3 separate regions of the Homo sapiens genome follow, and regions 1 and 3 are each linked to region 2. The links are contacts of gene promoters, found by promoter capture Hi-C in human tissues and cell types (Jung and others, 2019). All regions are on one chromosome and are shown on one strand. Each heading gives the region's core, a stretch centred on a gene start or on the middle of the fragment in contact. The rest is flanking DNA. Distances are from core to core; before and after follow the strand shown. Region 1 overlaps ABCA12 (ATP binding cassette subfamily A member 12). Region 2 holds the start of ABCA12 (ATP binding cassette subfamily A member 12). Region 3 overlaps SNHG31 (small nucleolar RNA host gene 31).

The links. Contacts are between HindIII fragments. The study calls those that stand out against the background at their distance.
Region 1: a fragment that was not itself captured here is called in contact with the fragment with the promoter of ABCA12 in region 2 in 2 of the 25 tissues and cell types used here (pancreas and spleen).
Region 3: a contact is called between a fragment that was not itself captured here and the fragment with the promoter of ABCA12 in region 2, in 2 of the 25 tissues and cell types used here (mesendoderm cells and spleen).

The regions. Positions count from the first base shown.
Region 1 is chr2:214,953,302-214,957,759 of GRCh38, forward strand. ABCA12 (ATP binding cassette subfamily A member 12) reads right to left here. Exons shown (of 53, transcript NM_173076.3): 42 at 3,362-3,477; 43 at 1,901-2,060; 44 at 553-806. All of the region lies in intron 3 of SNHG31 (small nucleolar RNA host gene 31), which reads left to right. Among named protein-coding and RNA genes, the nearest start is that of SNORA70I, 110 kb to the left of the region's middle. The HindIII fragment of the contact is 3,531 bases long and covers 690-4,220 here.
Region 2 is chr2:215,136,167-215,140,563 of GRCh38, forward strand. It overlaps ABCA12 (ATP binding cassette subfamily A member 12), which reads right to left and starts at 2,460. Exons shown (of 53, transcript NM_173076.3): 1 at 1,974-2,460. The coding sequence starts at 2,042. The HindIII fragment of the contact is 12,690 bases long and covers 1-4,397 here.
Region 3 is chr2:214,917,606-214,921,861 of GRCh38, forward strand. All of the region lies in intron 2 of SNHG31 (small nucleolar RNA host gene 31), which reads left to right. Among named protein-coding and RNA genes, the nearest start is that of SNORA70I, 73 kb to the left of the region's middle. The HindIII fragment of the contact is 5,514 bases long and covers 1-4,256 here.

The DNA of each region.
Region 1 (4,458 bases), core at 1,205-3,704, 180 kb before region 2:
GGTTACCATGATGAATAACTTTAAACATACATAAGTAAGTCTGTGTATCTGTGACCATATATGCAAACATTCCAGAAATGGAATTGCTGGGTCAATGGCATGTGTATTTCTTCTCATTTATGATGCTGTCTTCACTTTTTCTTAATCTTCTTTTCCCAAACTCATTGCCAACATGCTCCACACTCAATCCTCTTTCCCCATTTCTGCCTTGAAAGTGTTTTCCATTTTCCCAAACTCAACTCAAAGACTACATCTTTTGTTCATTTACATATTTTCACTTCACCACTGTACCTTAATCTATTTAAGGTTAACAACTGTGCTTATTTAATTTTATTCCCTCACTCAACAGCAATAGTTGCAGTCACATATTAAGATTTGATAACTACTTACTAGAATAAAATAAATAGTGAATTATGCTAGAATTTTTTAAAAGTTTTTGAGCCAAACATTTCCATATTACCAATGGAAAAGCTTAGACTATTGACTTCTTTCTCAATAGGTTGAATTGAGTTCTGTTTTAGATGTCAAACGTTATGTTTTCATTATATTTACCTGAGTTTCTTTATCAGGGATTCGTTGATTAAGAGTCGCAAGGAAAAAAACATGGTGCCCTGAGAAACCAAAGCCACAAACATTGCACCTAGTTTATTCATCTCAAAGGTTTCATTTGGGTATTCCACTCCATATGCTTTTAAGAAGTCTAGGACCGACTGTTGTTGAGAAAGTTCAATCAAACCGTAGCCAAAACAGAATTGTGGGAAAATCAGGAAAATGCGCTTGAGGGTTTCAGAAATAAGTTCTAAAGTCTGAAATAAGAGAAATAAAAATAAAACTCAGTGTTAAGTTTCCAAAAAGCTGACAAAAATTTAAAACTAGATGGATGTAGACAAATAGTGAAACCTAAAAAGCTTATCTAGATTGGCAATTATTTCCCATATAGGCTGAATTTGCATACAAATATTTAGTATACTAAATGGTGGATGTTTATCACTGAAATACAAGCAGAAAATCATTATATGAGGCCACCTATAATGTTGGACCTAATCCTGGAGGCAAAATTATTTCTAGACCTACCTTTAATCCCAGGAATGTAGGGCTAGCCAGTGTGTTGGGGTCTGTTACACGGTATCATTATGTGCCTGAGGGAGGGAGGTACTTGGTACAGTAAAGTTTTGGAACCCAAGGTAATCCCTACTTGGAGAGGGACTAAAATGCTGAAATGAGGTAGAAGAAGAGCCAACATGTCTCGAAGAGGGACAAATAGCTCATTTTCACATTATTCACACGTGGGCCAACTACTTCCACTTCATGAATTTTCTTCCTTCTCCCAGAGTATGCTTGTCTAGTCCTCAGTTCACTTCATTTCCTCTCTATTCTTTTCTGTTCAATTGCCTGACACTGTTAGTGCTTCTCTTCTCACTAATCGTAATTGTCAGCTCTGAATGGAAAGTGATGCTTACAATGAAGTAGTCTCCAATACATGATTGAAAGGGGATGAATTAGGTTTTTTCTCTATGAATGTTCAAATGAATCAAAGCTCACAGTCATATAACTAAGTCGTTGTCCTTGTCACCACCATACCATAAGAACTTGTTAATGAGTAAGATGTTTAGCTGACCAATGGTTGCGTGATTTATGTAGTGCCGCACAATACATCTGATTTCACCTCTGTCACCACATTCAAGCCCTATCAGGTGTCAATAGTTTTGACGCTCAATACATACAATGATAGGCATTAACTTAGATGAGGCCCAAAAAGAATTTTAAAAGCTGTAGTTTCTCCTCTCCCAAATTTAATAGAATCAAATGATATTCTTCTTTTTTATGTAGAATAAATAAAATCTTTCCACCTGGAACATGTTGAAGCTTTTGATAAATTCACTGAAATAAGGGACCTTACCGGATCATTAGGCTTTTCCTTGGAAAGAAAGTATACCACTGACAGGGAAACAATGGAATTAATGCCAAAAAACAAGTTGACACAGACGTAAGTGATGAAGGCCATTCCTGTTTCATGGAAGAGCCCAGCCAGCAAGTACATCCAGGAAAATGTTGCATACCTGCAGGTTAAAAACACAAAGAATTAAAATTACGCCTCGGCCAGGCATGGTGGCTCACACCTGTAATCCTAACACTTTAGGAGGCTGAGGCAGGTGGATCACTTGAGCCCAGGAGTTTGAGACCAGCCTGAGCAACTTGGCAAAACCCTGTCTCTACAGAAAAATATGAAAATCAGCCAGGTGCGGTGGCACGCACCTGTAGCCCTGGTTATTTGGGAGGCTGAGGTCGGAGGATCAAGCTGTGGTGAGCTGTGATCATGCCACTGCACTCCAGCCTGGGTGACAGAGTGAGATCCTGTCTCAGAAAAGAAATGCCTTAATTATTCTATTTTACAAAAAATAACAATTTAGATGGGCTTCCAAAGTAAAAATAACCATTAGGGATGAGTTGTCAAGCCTTCTAACTAGATCTCTCTTTCATTCCTTTTTGACAAAAAAAATCCAAAGAGTTTTTTTTAAAGACAGTAAAAAGCCTCTTTAAGAAACCTTGAGTAGTTCTACATCATTAAAACTACAAATTAATCCCTCCTGAATATGGTATTATCCCGCCTAGGCAAGCCTTTTAGGTTGCTCAGAAATATGAGTTTAATCAGTATAAATCTTATAATTTAAAGTTGAGGAAAAGTAATGACACTGTTCAAGTCTAGCTGAGCAGAAAGAGCATGCTTAGAAGCTGGCTAGCCTGTTTTGAGCAAAACCTTGAGCAATTTGGGGGGCAATTAAATAGATCTAGAGACAGAGTTCCTGCATTAGCTACAATTGCTAATTAAGGGTTACTACCATGTATTCAGGGCAGAAAGATTTGTTATGCTAAGCATTGATTATATCAGCCTGTGTTACCTGTATTAGCTTAAGATAGAAACAATATTATGTGTGTGTCCTTATACATCTATAAAAAGATAAATATAAGTAAGTATACATGAAGGTATATGCACTTCATAATGCTACATATACTCATATAGTCAATACATAAATTTATACATGTATACACATTTTCTCATCATTCTAAAGCTTTCATTTTTATGTAAATGAGATCACATATGTAAATTAGAAAGCATGACACTTGGCACCCAATAAATGCTTATTAATTTTAGGTATTACTATTAATAACAACATTAATTTTCAAAAGTATTATACTTTGCAGTCTATGGACTAGCAAGTGCAATGTGTTGTTAGTCATCACTCATGTCAAATGAAACCCCAAGACAATTGTAATTTAGCTAATGAGATTTAAGTCCTATTTGTGTCTAGGGGCATTTAATTCTATTAATTCTTCTTTCATTGCTTAATCAGCAGCTTACCCAAACAGGAGAAGTAGGAGAGATACAGCGCCTAGGTTGTTTTCACTGTAGAATGCAGGTAATTTGAAAATCGCAATGATACCAATTGAAAACGCTACAGGCACCAAGTAGAAAACCTATGGAAATATTCAAAACAATGTTTAATACGTGACAAGCATTTTTCAAAAAAAAAAAAATCAATAACCCATCTAGTTTAAAACTGCAACAAGTTGACCTAGAAAAATTTGAAGAAATGAATTCTTATTTATGTTCCCATTGCTTCTAACATTCAACTTATTTTACATTGATTTCACTTTAGAATTTGTCTCCTGCAATATGAGGTTAAGCCAATCTCCATCTTTAACAGATATACAAGGAGTCCCTGGTGTTCCTGCCTCTAGGCTTTGAGACTTGGGATGGTTCAGTGACAGAGGTTCAGTGAGAAAGATAAGACAGCCAGGTATCTTGGTATTACATTCAGTCCTCAAAGTATTGATTTCGTTTTGAATGCTGGAACTTTCTCAGATGGTTGATTTCTAAAGCTTGGTTATCAGTGTGAACCACTCTGTGCAAAGCAGCAGGGCATCAGGTCCCACATATCCTCATAATCACAGGTATACGAACAAAGAACTTAGCATTTTGTTGGCAAGTAGAAATATTTATTAAATGCTGAGGAGTTTGCAGGAAGATGGACACAATGAAGGTGGTGGTAACTTAATTTGCAGGGTGGGGAGGAATCTCCTAAATTGGAATGAGCTCCAGATATAAGACAACAGAATCCTAAAGTACTAAGTAGACCTTCACAGAAGTATGTACTTGAAATTTTCTTAACATTAAAGCTCCTGTTAAGTCCTGAGAAGTCATTACTATTCTTTTAGATTTGACTTCTACAACAAACACATTTTAGACCTCACTGGATACATTAACAAAATGGATATGCAGTTAATTACTCTCCAACCCTTTAAGCCGATGATCTTGACAGCAACTCAGACAATTTCACCATAATCACCAGGCAAATGCATACCCATCCTGGGCTTTTGGCCAACATTGGTATGTTTGGAGTCCAGAACAACCATCTGAACTTGGGACCATTTTATGCAAATGAGAGAGCTATCAAT
Region 2 (4,397 bases), core at 1,210-3,709:
GCTCATGTATTCTCCCTCCCTAGGAAAAGTATAGTTACCAGAGTTTATTTAGGGGTTTTGACTAGATGGGAATAATGCAAGGTGTCATGCTTGAAAAACTTTTAATATCTGACTTACATCTCCCCTAAATATTTCACCATGTCCACAAACACTGACTAAAATGAAGAGAAACCCCAAAGGAGAAAATTGATATACCTACTACTTTCAAAATGAGGAAAAAAATTTGTCATTAAAATTTCTAAAGATAAAATTTCTCAATGAAAAACAAACATCTTCACCTGAGATTTGGGTGTTTTTTTTTCCTATAACTTTTTTTACACAAAATAGAGTTGTAAAAGAAACAGACCTCAGCATTCAGATTATTGACAATAACACGTACAGATTTTAGTTCCTCTGTGTTTTTGTTTTTAGCTATTGAATTTTTATCACTTACAAACTTGACTGTACGTGGATTTCTTCCTTTTACCCACAGTATCTTCTCCTGAATTTCCTTTCATTATTAATCTGCATAAAATATGACACACATTGCCTCAAATCCCTCACTAATCTATTTGCTAAGTGTGTCAGTATTATAAAGCACTTTGAAATACATTAGCACATTTGGTACTTCCCCCAATGAGTTAGATGTGGCAGGCTTCATGCCACATCTAACTAATCATGTCACGTCTAACTCATCATGCCACATCATGGTGGGAAAAACAGTGCTTAGAGAAACTGTCTTAAGCTACTTAAGTTACATGAGGAGCAGTGGCAGGGGCCCCAACTCGCATGCTCTGACCACATGACCACATCCACACACCCAGGATCCTTTCCCTGCTTATGCCACACAGAATCAACCACATGATAATTATGGGGAGGTTTTCTTCTGTGCTTTTTTTTTTCCAGTTAAAAAACAAATAAAAACATGAATGAGTTTATAATTTTATATTCAAACCCCACACCCATGCAATCACATGCCTTAGAATTTTAAAACCCTACCCACAAAATTCACAAGGGTAAATGAACATCTACTTCCTCCTCTTACTACACACATCAAAACACTCAAGTAAAGTGTCAGGCAATCCAAGCAAGCCTGGAGCGAGATAAGGTGCATAGATAAAGTGCTGGTTTCTGTGTGATGCATATTATTTGCATAATATTTACATTACTCATTCAAGGCTGGGAATTACCACTTTAAAATAAAGTATATTGAATACCTTTTTGGATTTCCCCGATTTTCAAACATTCTTCTGAATATATAACAACTCCCAGAAACCAATTCCTTTCTCAATCATCCTGGGAGCCATCTGATGAGGATCTAATAGCTAACTTTGTAATTAGAACGCAAACATTAATGTAAGAGTACAAAAAAGACGTTGCAATGAGCAAGAGAAGATAGATTGTAGTAGTAAAGCTAAGTGATTCAATAATATTCTTAAAACATAGCACATATACATACTCTTGTTTGGTATTCCCAGTAAATGATTTTTAGATACTAAAATTTCTCAGTAGCTTTTCTATACTAATAGCCTTCAAACTATTTCTGTTCTGTATTTTACCTTTCAACCAAACTTTCTATGGCTTTCAGTTTTCCAGTATATTTCTTCCCATTTATTGTACATTTCAAATAATACTTTTCTTTCCTCTATCCCATTTTTAACTACATTAAGAAAAATTCTGAAAGCCTTTTGGCTTGAAACCAGAATTCAACGTTCCAGTTCAGCCAGTAATGAGTCATGTTCTTTTTTTTTTGCCCAGGGCATGTCCTGGTTTACTCTTTAATTTACTGAAATGAAAAGGCTGCTTTTGGGGGCATGTTAAGACTCGCTCCATTAGCTATAAGACAGATAGGGGGATGAATTCTAAATATCTTACTTCCTGCTTTGGAAAATGCCTTTAAACTCTTCTGTTTTCACTTCTCATTAAGATCACATTTTAGGATTACCTGGCGTATTGCCCCATGACCCATACTCCCACACTTTTTTTTAACTCACCGGCTGCCTTTTTACACCTAGCCAATTTTTCCAGACCAGGATCTGAAGCTGATGAAACAGGGAAGCCATCCTTCAAATGCCCCAAATGAGAGATTTCCTCTTCTTTTCTCCACTCCACAAATGAAGAACTGATGCCCCGTCCAACTTGCTGTATGTCAGTGTATCAGTACCCCTTTCACGGCATAGCTTCCTTGAGGGCTGGGGTAAGAAACCCACAGTTCTTCTGTTTCTGCTGGATTTTTCCCTGTGGTTAATCCTTAACCAAGAGGCACTTCTCAATCAACTCTTCTTCCAAAAGAAGGACCCAGATCAGTATCTTTGGGTGGCTTATGCTTATTTTAAAATAATATCCAGTTGCTGCTTGTTGCACGAAGTCCAGACTCAAGAGAGAATGAGCATCATTCAGATAATGCCTCACTGAAAAAAAAAAAAAAGCAGCAGCTGAACCCACACCTCCTACTCTCCATGAAATTAATTGCCTATCCACACCTTAGAGAACATGTCACCTGCACTGGATGCGTCACAGGGACTAGGGGGTGGGACCTTTGCAAGGCCAGTAGGACTTGTCCTACATTCTCTTGTCTTCTTTCCTGCACACAGTGTCTGCTCTAGCAGAGGCAGGGCACAGAGAGCATTTCACAGACACTGGGCCCAGTGACTCTTTAATATTAAAGTGTCATTAAAATGATTTAAGTCAATAAGGCCAGAGCTTAGCTGCAAAGCTCTGAGCCTCAGCCCATCATTAGATATACTAGGGAAAGTGTCCACCTTTAACCTAAAGTTGAATGTTTCGATTTTGGGGGAAGAAACTATGTTGGCCAGGTCCCACCTTTCATCACAATGTACTAGGTTAAGCACAGGGCAGAAAAGGAAAGGTAGGCTGTAGGGGACATAAATTACAAACTGGAGTCCCTCAATTCGTGAGTGGAGATTCACGTGTCTATTACAGACAAGCCACATTGTTTCAGGCTCTTATAGTGAAAGGGGACACAGGCTGATCCAAGACATTTCTATTTCCTCTTTCCATGATACATTCCTCCCTCTCTAAGATCCTGCCTTTCAAAGTTATCCCCAAGTTGACATCTTCAATGAAGCCTTTTTGGATATATCCCATAGGATAGATTCTCTTGCCTTTGAATCATTCTTTGTTGCCCTCTCTCAAGGAACTTAAAGTTTTTGCATTATTTTTATTTGTGTATGTCTTATTTTTCCTACAAGATTATAAATTATTTGAGGACATGGACTATTTTATATCACAGTACTTTACATATCATTAGTGTTCAATACTTGCTGCTGAATGTAATTGAATAAACTACTGGAGCCAAGGCTAGTAGGGTGAAGCTCCCCTTTGATCCTCACACCTACCCTGACTAATCCAGACTTTACTTGCAAAATCCGTTAAAGCATTAAGAGTTCTCCCTTCGCCAGGTGCGGTGGCTCATGCCTGTAATCCCAGCAATTTGGGAGGCCGAGACGGGCTGATCACTTGAGGTCAGGAGTTCAAGACCAGCCTCGCAAACATGGTGAAACCCCGTCTCTACTAAAAACACAAAAATTAGCCAGGCATGGTGGTGGGCACCTGTAATCCCAGCTATTTGGGAGGCTGAGGAGGGAGAATCGCTTGAAACCGGGAGGCAGAGGTTGCAGTGAGCTGAGATGGCGCCACTGCACTCCAGCCTGGGCAAAAGAGTGAGATTCCATCCCCCCTCCAAAAAAAGGAATCTAGCACAGGTCCTGCCTCATAGTAAGTAGTCAATTAATTCTATTAATTGGGTAGCAATGTTTGCTAAGGACTTATTGAATCATCCTAGGAGTCCTATTATATAGAAACTGTCATTATTCCCATTTTCAGTGAAAGAAAGTGATATTTAGAAGTGCCATAACTTGCTGGATTTCACCTAGTTAGCAGTGAGGACAGTGGGAACAGCAGAGAAGGAACTCGAACCTCGTTTCTGTACTGTTAATCTCTGTGCTATGTTTTCTCCAGTCCCATGTATTACACTTCACAGGAAGAGCTGAGAAACAAATGAACATCAGGGATTTTCCCTGTTTCTCTAGGCAGGTCTATAAATCACTTGTAGAGATTTTTTTGTAAGTACACGCATGAAAAATTATGGCCAAAATGAGTTCACAAAGAGTAGTTGCTCCAGGAATTCAGGAGAAGGAAGGCTGCTCTTTTAGGCTTCTTCATAGAGCCTCACGGCACTTCCCAGCCTGGCTCTTGCCAGCTTCATCAGTTGTCTCTCCACCTTCAGCCCTCCCTCCTGCCATCTGCTAGAATACTTTAGATGAGGACTGTTCACTTTCAGGCTTTGGTCATGCTGTTCCCTCTGCCCAAAATGAAATTGTGCTCATTCTCAAATGACTGACTCAAGTGTAACTTCCCCTCTGAAGCCTTTTCCAGCACTTCCACCCACCACACCC
Region 3 (4,256 bases), core at 314-2,813, 220 kb before region 2:
GCTAACATGGTAAAACCCCATCTCTCCTAAAAATACAAAAATTAGATGGGCATGGTGGTCCGTGTTTGTAATCCCAGCTACTTGGGAGGCTGAAGCTTGAGAATCACTTGAGCCTGGGAGGCGGAGATTGCAGTGAGCTGAGATTACGCCATTGCACTCCAGCCTGGGCAACAGAGTGAGACCCTGTCTCAAAAAAAAAAAAAGGAAAGAAAAGAAAAAGGTTGGGATAGAATTTAGGGCAGATAAAAAATATAGCTTAATACCATAATTTAATATATCATCTTTTTTGCTATAAATCAATTATTTAACCCCTTTGATACTTGTTCCCATCTAGGGGCAGTAATACTGCACAGGGTTGCTATGAGGTTCAAATGATTTTAAACATGTAAAGTTTTTTCATAAAAAGTGAAATTTTATACTTATGTAATTGTTAACTATTATTAAATCTAGATTAGTTCATCAGTGGCTGGCAAAATGTGAACAGATACAGAAGCTGACCTTCTGTGATTTGTAACAATAGCATAGATGTCGACAAGAGTCAATCACACAGGCTTTTACCACTTCTACTCAATGTAGTACTGGAAATTCTAGCTGGAACAATTAAGCAAGGGGAAGAAAAGGCATGCAAATTAGAAAAGAAGAAGTAAAATTATCTCTGCTTGCGGATGATATTATACGTAGAAAACCTAAAATTTTCACATAAAAAAAATCCTGTTAGAACTAATAAGTGAGTTCAGCAAAGTAGCAGGATGGAAAGTAAACACAAAACTAAGTTAGATTTCAATATATTAGTAATGAACAATTTGGAAAAGAAATTAAGACAACAATTTTAGGCCTGGCACATTGGTTCATGTCTATAATCCCAGCACTTTGGGTGGCCGAGGCGGGAGGAACACTTGAGATCAGGAGTTCGAGACCAGCCTGGCCAACATGGTGAAATCCTGTCTCTATTAAAAATACAAAAATTAGCTGGGCATGGTAGCAGGCACCTATAATCCCAATTACAGGAGAATTGCTTGAACCCGGGAGGTGGAGGTTGCACTGAGCTGAGACTGTGTCACTGCACTCCAGCCTGGATGACAACAGCAAAACTCCATCTCAAAAAAAAAAAAAAAAAGAAAGAAAGAAAAAGAAAGGAAAGAAAACAATTCTGTTTACAGTAACACCTACTATGATCTGAATGTTCGTGTCCCTCCAAAATTCATGTGTTGAAATTTAACAATCAGCGCAGTGGAGCTGAGAGGTGGGACATCTGGAAGGTGATTAAGTCATAAGGGCAAAGCCCTCATAAATGGGATTAATGTCTTTGTAAAAGAGGCCTAGGGGAGCTTATTTGTCTTCTGTGTCATATGAGGACTAGCAAGAAAGTGTCATCTATGAAGTGTAGGCTGCCAACAGATACCTATGAATCTGCTGGCACCTTGATCTTTGACTTCTCAGCTTCTAGAACTGTGAGCAATACATTTCTATTGTTTATAAATTATTTAGTCTAAAATATTTTGTTCGGGAAGCCAAAATGGACTTAGATAGCATCAAAAAGAATAAAATACTTAGAAACCAACTTAACCAAGAAGGAGAAAGACTTGTGCAATGAAAACTATAAAACAGTGCTGAAAAAGTAAAGATACAGGTAATTGGAAGCACATCTCATGTTCATAGACTGGAAAACTTACTATTGTTAAGATGTCAACACTACCCAAATCTATCTATAGATTCAACGCAATTCCTATCAAAATCCCAATGACATTTTTTTGCAGAAATAAAAAACGCCAACCTAAAATTCATACAGACTCTCAAGGGGTCCCAAATAGCCAAAACAGCCTTGAAAAAGACAAACCAAACTGGAGGATTCACACTTCCTGGTTTCAAAACTTACTACAAAGCGACAGTAATCAAACAATGTGGAACTGGCATAAAGACAGGTATACAGACCCATGGAACAGAATAGGGAACCTAGAAGTAAACCCTCACATATATGATCAAATGATTTTTGACTAGGGTGCCAAGTCCATTCAGTGGGGAAAGAATAGTCTTTTCAACAAATGGTGTTGGAAAAACTAGATATCCATATGCAAATGAAAGAAGTTGGAATACAAAATTAGTTCAAAATGAATCAGGAACCTAAATGTCAGTCCTAAAACTATAAAGTCCTTAGGAAAAAAAACATTGAGTAAAAGCTTCATAGCATTGAATTTGGCAATGACATTAAAGGCATAGAAAACAAAAGGAAAAACAGACAAATTTGAACTTCATGGACATTTTTAAAAATCATGCATCAAAAGGCACTATCAACAGAGTAAAAAGGCAACTGACACAATAGTGAAAATATTTGTAAATAATATATTTTATAAGGGATTAGTATCCAGACTGTATAGAGATCTTCTACAGCTCAATGACAAACAACCCAATTCAAAAATGAGCAAAAGACTTGAATAAACATTTCTCCAAAGAAGATATAAAAATAGCTAATAAAAACATGAACAGGGCTGGGCGCGGTGGCTCATGCCTGTAACCCTAGCACTTTGGGAGGCCGAGGCAGGCAGATCACGAGGTCAGGAGATCGAGACCATCCAGACTAACACGATGAAACCCTGTCTCTACTAAAAATACAAAAAGTTAGCCTGGCGTGGTGGTGGGCACCTGTAGTCCCAGCTACTCAGGAGGCTGAGGCAGGAGAATGGCGTGAACCTGGGAGGCGGAGCTTGAGATAAGCAAAGATCGTGCCACTGCACTCCAGCTTGGGCGACAAAGTGAGACTCCATCTCAAAAACCAAAACCAAAACCAAAAACAAACAAACAAAAATCATGAAAAGATGCTCAACATCACTAATCATTAAGGAAATGCAAATCAAAGTTGCAATGAGATACCACCTTACACCCATTAGGATGGCTACTACCAAAAAAACCAGAATATAATAATTGTAATAATTGTTGGTAAAGATGTGGAGTAAATAGAACCCTAGTGCAGGGTTGATGGGAATGAAAAATGCTATTGTTGTGTGTGGAAACAGTATTATAAATTAAAAATATAATTATGTGATAATTCATATGATTCAGCAATTCCGTTTCTGGGTATATACTACAAAGAATTGAAAGAAGGGTCTTGAAGAAATATTTGTACATCCATGTTCATTATTAACAACAGCCAAGAGGTAGAAGCAACTCGGGTATTCGTTGACCAATGAACAGATAAGCAAAATGTAGTATATACATACAATGGAATACTATTTAGCCTTAAAGAGGAAGGAAATTCTGACATATACCACAACGTGGATTAACTTTGAGGATATTATGCTTAGTGAAATAAGCCAGCCACAGAAAGACAAATACTATATGATTCCACTTATATTAAGTAGCTGGAGTAGTCAAAATCATAAAGAAAGAAAGTATAATGGTGATTGTTGAGTTGGAGAGGGGAGAAAGGAGATTATTGTTGAATGAGTATAGTTTCAGTTTTACAGGATGAAAATAGTTGTAGAGACAGATGGTGATGGTTGTACAGCATTATAAATGTATTTAATACCAGTTAATTGTACACTTAAAAATGATTAAGATCATAAATCTTAGGTGTATTTTACCACAGTGAAATAATTAGCAGAAAGTCAACCAAAGAGTTAGTGCCTTAAACAGAGAGGAATAAAAATTATCTCGAAGATTGGGGTGGACAGGATTATTAATTACACACTTAAGCAAATACTGACTAGAATCTTTTGGAAAGGGTACTTTGAGGGAAAAATATTATCAAAGAAAAAAATGGAAGTTAAGGCTGCATAGGCAGTTAGATTTGAATCTACCTATGAGTTTTAGCTATCTATTGCTGCGTAATACTATTGCCACAGATTTGGTGGCTTCATACAACACATGTTTATTATCTACCATTTCTATGGGTCAGGAGTCTGGGTGCATCTTAGCAGAGTTCTCTGTAAGGCTGTAATTAAGGTATTGTCTAGGGCTGAGTTCTTATCTGCATACCAGACTGGGGAAGAACCTGTTGCTAAGCTCAGATGGTTGTTGGCAGCATTTACTTGCTGGTTGTGAGACTAAGGGTCTCAGTTTCTTGCTGGCTCTCAGCTGGAGGCCATCTTTAGTTTCTTGCCACTTGTTGGCCAGAGGCTGCCTGCCATTCCTTGCCAAGGAGGCCTTTCAACATGGCCTCTTACTTCATTAAAGCCAGGAAGGGAGAGAGGCTATTAGCAAGACAGATGGTACAATCTTTTGTGACATAATCACTTTTGTTATATTCTGTTTGTCTGAAG